2 separate regions of the Homo sapiens genome follow, and region 2 is linked to region 1. The links are contacts of gene promoters, found by promoter capture Hi-C in blood cells and fetal thymus (Javierre and others, 2016). All regions are on one chromosome and are shown on one strand. Each heading gives the region's core, a stretch centred on a gene start or on the middle of the fragment in contact. The rest is flanking DNA. Distances are from core to core; before and after follow the strand shown.

What was found. The method cuts DNA at HindIII sites, captures the fragments that hold promoters and counts their contacts. A CHiCAGO score of 5 or more calls a contact.
Region 2: a contact is called between a fragment that was not itself captured here and the fragment with the promoter of SETD2 in region 1, in 1 of 17 cell types (megakaryocytes). The highest score is 5.0, in megakaryocytes.

The regions. Positions count from the first base shown.
Region 1 is chr3:47,162,661-47,165,582 of GRCh38, forward strand. SETD2 (SET domain containing 2, histone lysine methyltransferase) reads right to left here and starts at 1,453. Exons shown (of 21, transcript NM_014159.7): 1 at 1,194-1,453. The coding sequence starts at 1,264. KIF9-AS1 (KIF9 antisense RNA 1) reads left to right here and starts at 1,710. Exons shown (of 7, transcript NR_033373.1): 1 at 1,710-1,937. RefSeq lists silencers at 746-1,055, 1,106-1,855, 1,906-1,955. The HindIII fragment of the contact is 4,411 bases long and covers 1-2,922 here.
Region 2 is chr3:47,244,118-47,246,839 of GRCh38, forward strand. It overlaps KIF9 (kinesin family member 9), which reads right to left. Exons shown (of 21, transcript NM_182902.4): 13 at 2,080-2,135; 14 at 1,304-1,394; 15 at 674-807. Among named protein-coding and RNA genes, the nearest start is that of SNORD13J, 5.1 kb to the right of the region's middle. The HindIII fragment of the contact is 604 bases long and covers 1,056-1,659 here.

The sequences.
Region 1 (2,922 bases), core at 203-2,702:
TAAAATGTGTCAAAACAGCAAAGCTCTTGGAATCATCCTGGTCATAAAAGTTTGACAGTTTCATGTGAAACCCCTATCAACCGATAAGTTTTAAATCAATAGTATATTCCTAGGTCTAACACCAGCAAACGGTGTTTAAGAACGGCTTTTCAAAACAATGGTCTCGTGAGGGTTCAGGGAAAGAAGTGACTCCAGGCTTTCTGAGATAGCAGATACAGCAGCAGATTCAGACCTCAAGAGAAATGTAAAGGTGTCCTAGACTGAAAAATTACTATTGGGCAAAACTGTGTGTCGGTTTTCCACAACATTGTCTTCTTTAGAGAATCCTCAAACGATTCTTGGTTTTTAACCAAGTCTTCACAAGAAATAGAAAGTCATCCGTTTAGGGTAAGAGATTCCTGTTACCAAGAAAATTGTGTCCGAAAGTGTGAAAATCTCACAACCTGCAAGAAAATGTATGTCCCTCAGGAGGCTTTCATTTTCAAGCGGAAAAACAAACCCGGTGTCACCTCAACAACGGGACCACACAAACCTCGCCATTACAAAACCCAAGTGCCAAAGGTGCACAATGTGAATCCGGAAGCACTGCAAGGCCAGGATCGAGTTCCCAGGAGGAAAAAATCAAACTCAGGAGTGCAGCGCGGGCCCCTCCACGGCCCGGGGGCCAGGCAACCCGCGCTAGGCCCTTCCGGTCCGAGGCGCCGCCGTCGCGGGGAGGTCGGGCGACGGGTCGAGCTTCCACCCGAGCCCGGGGATTCGCGGCCTACCCTCACCGGCGCCCTCTTGCCGGGCCCGGCACCGGCAGCTCCTCCGACTCTGCCCTTTGGCTAGCAGCGGGGCCCGGACGAGCCACGAGGAGCCCGAGAGGACCGCCGAGCCCCGGGATGGCCGGGTCGGTGCGGACACGGCGGTAACCGTAGGGACCGTGGCCGCCCCTCCCCCACCGGCCCGGCCCAACCGCCGCCGCGACACGAGCAGCGGCGCCAACGCCGGGCCCAACCGCGGGCCTGCTGCGGCCCCGGCCAAGCGGCTCGAAGTGGCGGCGCGGGCCTGCTCCCGACACCGACCGCGCGAGGCCACCGTGGGCCTGTTACTCCTCGCGCCGGCCCGCGCCGCCACCCGTCAGGACGCGCCGCCCTCGGCTGGGGATAAGGCGGCCGACAGCAGCGGGGGGCCGCGGAGCTGATACTTACTCAGGGGTCGGGTGCTCCGGGTCGTAGAAATCCCCCATCTTCGGAGGCGGCTGCGGCTGCAGCTGCTTCATCGGGAGCGGCTGGAGACGGCGACGCGAGCCCCCTCCCCGCAGCAGGGCGACGCGGGGGAGGGGAGGGGAGGAGGCCGCAGGTCCGACCGCGGCGGCGGCGGCGGCGGCGGCGGCGGCGGCAGGGGCGGCCCGCGTCGCTACCTCGCTCGTCGCTCCCTCCCTCCCTCGGACGCCCGCCAGCCGCTCTCTCCCTCTCACCCTCACACCGGGAGCGACGCACACCCCACCCGCCCCTCAGCTTCGCAGGCCCGGCCCCTTAAAGAGACACACACGGGCCACCGATCTGCCGCCAGTCGGCGTGCCTTGCAGCTGTTGGCTTGACCCCAGGCCGGGACGGGCAGAGCGGAACACTGCCCGGCGGGTCCAGGCCGACCGTGCCTGTGGCTCTCCGGAACAATAAACCCCCGGCCCCAGTGATGTGGGCCAGACCGGACCTGGAGAGGCGGCACCGCGACCCCTCCCGCAACCCGCCTGGCGGCCGGGGGCAGCGTGACCCGGCCCGCTACCGTGTCACAGCTGGCGACTGACAAACAGCAGGCGACGTCGGGAGAACTCCCCGAGACACCCGAGACATCAGCCTTCTCGCTCCGCGGCCCTGCAGGACCTGCCCGCCGGGAGCCCCGGAGTCCGCGGCAGCGCCGAGGGCCCCTCCCCCAGGCCTCTGGGCTCTGAGGTAACGCGGCCGCGGCTGCTCCCGGGCCCCTCGTCCCACTCGCCCCTCTCTTTTTTATTTTTCCTCGCCCTCTCTCTCCCTTGCCCGTTCATCTCGACCCTTTAGCAAGCATGGAAGCCCAGCGAGGCGGGGGATTGCTCGGAGGCCGAGCTCCCGGCAGCCTCCTCCGCCTTCCTTCCCGCTGTGCCCTCGGGGCTCCTACCTCCACCTCGGCGCGGCGCTCTGCCCCCACCCGAAGTCTCCAAGGCGGCAGCTCCCCTCTCCTGTGTGGTTCTTGGGGCCTTAGAGGCAATGTCATGAAAAAAAGGGTATTAATCACTTTCCTACAGAAATGATAAGATGAGACTAAGTAGAATAACTTGAAAGAGCTACGAGTTGTTATTTTTGGAAGGAGAGATAGGAACGCGTAAATCCAATAGCTAAACTTTCTAGACGCTGAAGAGTTTTTGGCGATAGATCATTTTGACATTGGGGGTTCATAGGGTTAGCGTTTTTTGTGTTGTTGTTGCTGTTGTTTTTCCACTAGAATTTTGAATCGGATTTTACCAGCAATTGGTAACGGAAAGGAAAGGATGTGTCTTCCAATTGAGAAACAGTGGTTAAAAACTGAAAGTGGGCCGGGCGCGGTGGTTCACGCCTGTAATCCCAGCACTTTAGGAGGCCGAGGCGGGCGGAGTAACTGAGGTCAAGAGTTCCAGACCACACTGGCCAACATGGCGAAACCCCATCTCTACTAAAAATACAAAATTTAGCCGGGCGTGGTGGCGCACGGCTGTAATTCCAGGTACGCGGGAGGCTGAAGCAGGAGAATCGCTTGAACCCAGGAGGCGGAGGTTGCAGTAAGCCCAGATTGTGCCACTGCACTCCAGCCTGGCGACAGAGCAAGACTCCATCTCAAAAAAATAAATAAATGAATGAAAATAAAAAATAAATTAGCTGGGCGTGGTGGTGCGCCTGTAATCCCAGCTACTCGGGAGGCTGAGGC
Region 2 (2,722 bases), core at 108-2,607, 81 kb after region 1:
GCTATTATTATTATTCCCATTTTGGAGATGCAGAAACAGGCACAGAGCGGTTCTCATGTCTCACATGGGGTGACCCCTTGGGTGTGAGAAGTGCAGAGCAGGGAAGGGAGCCCAGGCGTCAGCTCCAGAGCCTGTGCTCTTACCCACCACTACACAGCACCCTGGGAGGGCTCACTAAGTGAACCTAAATGCTCTTCCCACCTTGCACATACAAACGAGTCTTGCCTGAAAGGTGAACTGGAGTTTTAGGTGACCTGAGTGCCAGTCGGCGGGAAGACCCTAGTGAAGTGAGGGGAGGGGGTACAACATAAAGTACCAGAGGGCATGGGCTCTGGAGAGCTGGTCCAGCTTCTTGCTGCCATTCCACTACTCATTGGTGGTATGGCCTTGGTGAGTGACTTCCCCTCTCTAAGCCTCTGTTTCTTCATCAGTGTAATGAAGACATTAACTCCCACCTCACCAGGTTGCTGTGAGGACGAGAGATGATTCTTGTGCGGTTCCAAACCAGCCCCAGCCCGGGCCCCACAGACTTGCTAGTATTGGCAGCAGTGACGTCCATTGTGCCAACCCAGTAGCTGAGACACCAGGGGGAAAGTGGGAACAGTGCACATCCTCCCATGCACCCACCGAGGAGGGCCAGCTGCTGAGGAGGCAGAGCGGCAAGGTCACTCACCTGAGTGGCTCTTTGAATGTCTTCTTGGACTTGGCTTTCTTCCCAGGTTTGGTAGAGAAAGGGGCGACTCCGAGTCCAAAGTTTTGTCCTTCAGGCTCACCCACTAGGTGGCCATCAACATCCACAAGCCCCGCCTACATAGAGAGGCCAGCCAAAGGTCTGTGAGTTAGATTAAGGGCTTGGACCCCTTGGGGACCCACATGTATATGGCCCAAGGCTCAGGGTGGACATGTTCACCATACACACCAAGGTTTGACAGCTGCTGATGCCAGCCTCAGGCTGTCCCCTGTAGAGCGGTCCCTGACCACTCTGCCAAATGTCCACTTTCCACATGCACCCCCTCACCAGTATGGCACCTCATTCCATACTCTGGGGATCTTAAAGCTTATTTCCAACCTAATTCCAGGAAATCGTCTTTAATATTATTATCCATGTCTCTACCTTATGGAAATTATTTTTAATTCAAAAGTGGTTTACTCTTAACACAGGTCACCTGTGTTCATTCTGGTGTTACCTTTATCTGTTGCAATCCTAGCTCTGGTTTAATGCATTAATACTTGCTGGCTCTGCAAAGGTCTGAGGATGGGAAATCTGAGGTGAGTGCTGTCGGCAAGTAGCAACTATGCTTACCTTCTGGATAGCAGAAATGGCTGCAAAGTCATTCCTGTCAATGAGGGTGTACTTCCTGCGCAAAGTGGACTCCACTTCCTGTTCCTGTTGGCTTGGGAGACAGCAAGAGAGAACAGCTTGTACCTGGGGCCATGCTGAATCCACTGGGGCAAGAACCAAGTACTGGGGTTAAAAGTCATATGGGTGAGGCCCCTTGTGTGGGGCCACACCTTCATCATGAACCAGACCAGACAAAAGGACAAAGGACTCACTTCCCCCTGCCCCATTGCATATACCCACTGTCCGACCCCCATACCCACAAGGGCTACCTTATGTCATGTGTGTCTGCTCCAAGATGACACTTGATAAGGACCGTAAGCTTCACTTGGGACCATGTGGGGTTCTGTCTTAGGTTCTGTCTCTAAGAGGCCACTTGGAATCACATGACCAGCTTTAGTGACACCACCTAGCATAAGCTGCTCAGACTATGGGTATGTTTGCACCCAAATAAACCACAAATGCCTCCTGAGGTGGGAGTGTGTGTTGCAATATTCACAAGGTGAATATTCACAATGCCCTGCTCTGGGCACTCTCAGAGCTGGCACTCCATAAACACCTCCTGTCCAATTAATGAACTCACTGAATATCCACCAGGGACCCAGGCATGCCCCCAAGGACTCTGATTTGGCTCTTCATCCACAAGCAAGAAGAGGAGCTCTTGGAGGCAAGTGCCCAGATGGCAGGAGATGAAAATGGCAGCCTGATGTAGGAATGAGGTAGGGGTGGGGGTCTCTCACCTCAGAACCACCCGGAACTGGTTGAACACCTCCTTGATCTGTCTAAGGCTGATTATCTGGAGGGAAGACAGCAAGGCAGAGGTTAGACCAAGGGCACCTCGAGGGACCAGGGGGCATCTATGTTAGTAGAGAAATCAAGACCCCTTGGCTGACCCCTGGACCATCTGTCTCGAGAAGAGGACGTGTGCACACAGCCTCTCAGCGAAGTGGCAGCCAAGCCCTCCTCCAGAGCAGAGAAACACCTGATTAATAATTTTAAAACTAAGTATTTGCTGAGGCTATAAAAACCACCTTTTCGAAGTGGAGACCTCTATAAAATGAAATGATTCTATACCTTGAAAATACCTTCTAAAGGTTTTTTTTTTTTTTTTAATAAAATGTACTTCTCAGCTTTCTCTTACTTCCAAAAGGTTCTGCCTGCTGTCTTCAGATGGAGCCCATTTATGGTCCTGTCTGCATGGGCACAGACACACACACGAGGCTGGAGGAAGGTTACTGGCCTCCCCCCAGCCTAAAGCCCACAGCATTCCCCTTGATCAAGGGTTAATTTGGGACTGCCCCTCCTGTGAAGGCCAGAAGAGTCCATCCCTTAGTTGTCCCAGGCCTGCTTCTCGGAGCTGCCCACAGTAACAGCCAGGGGGGT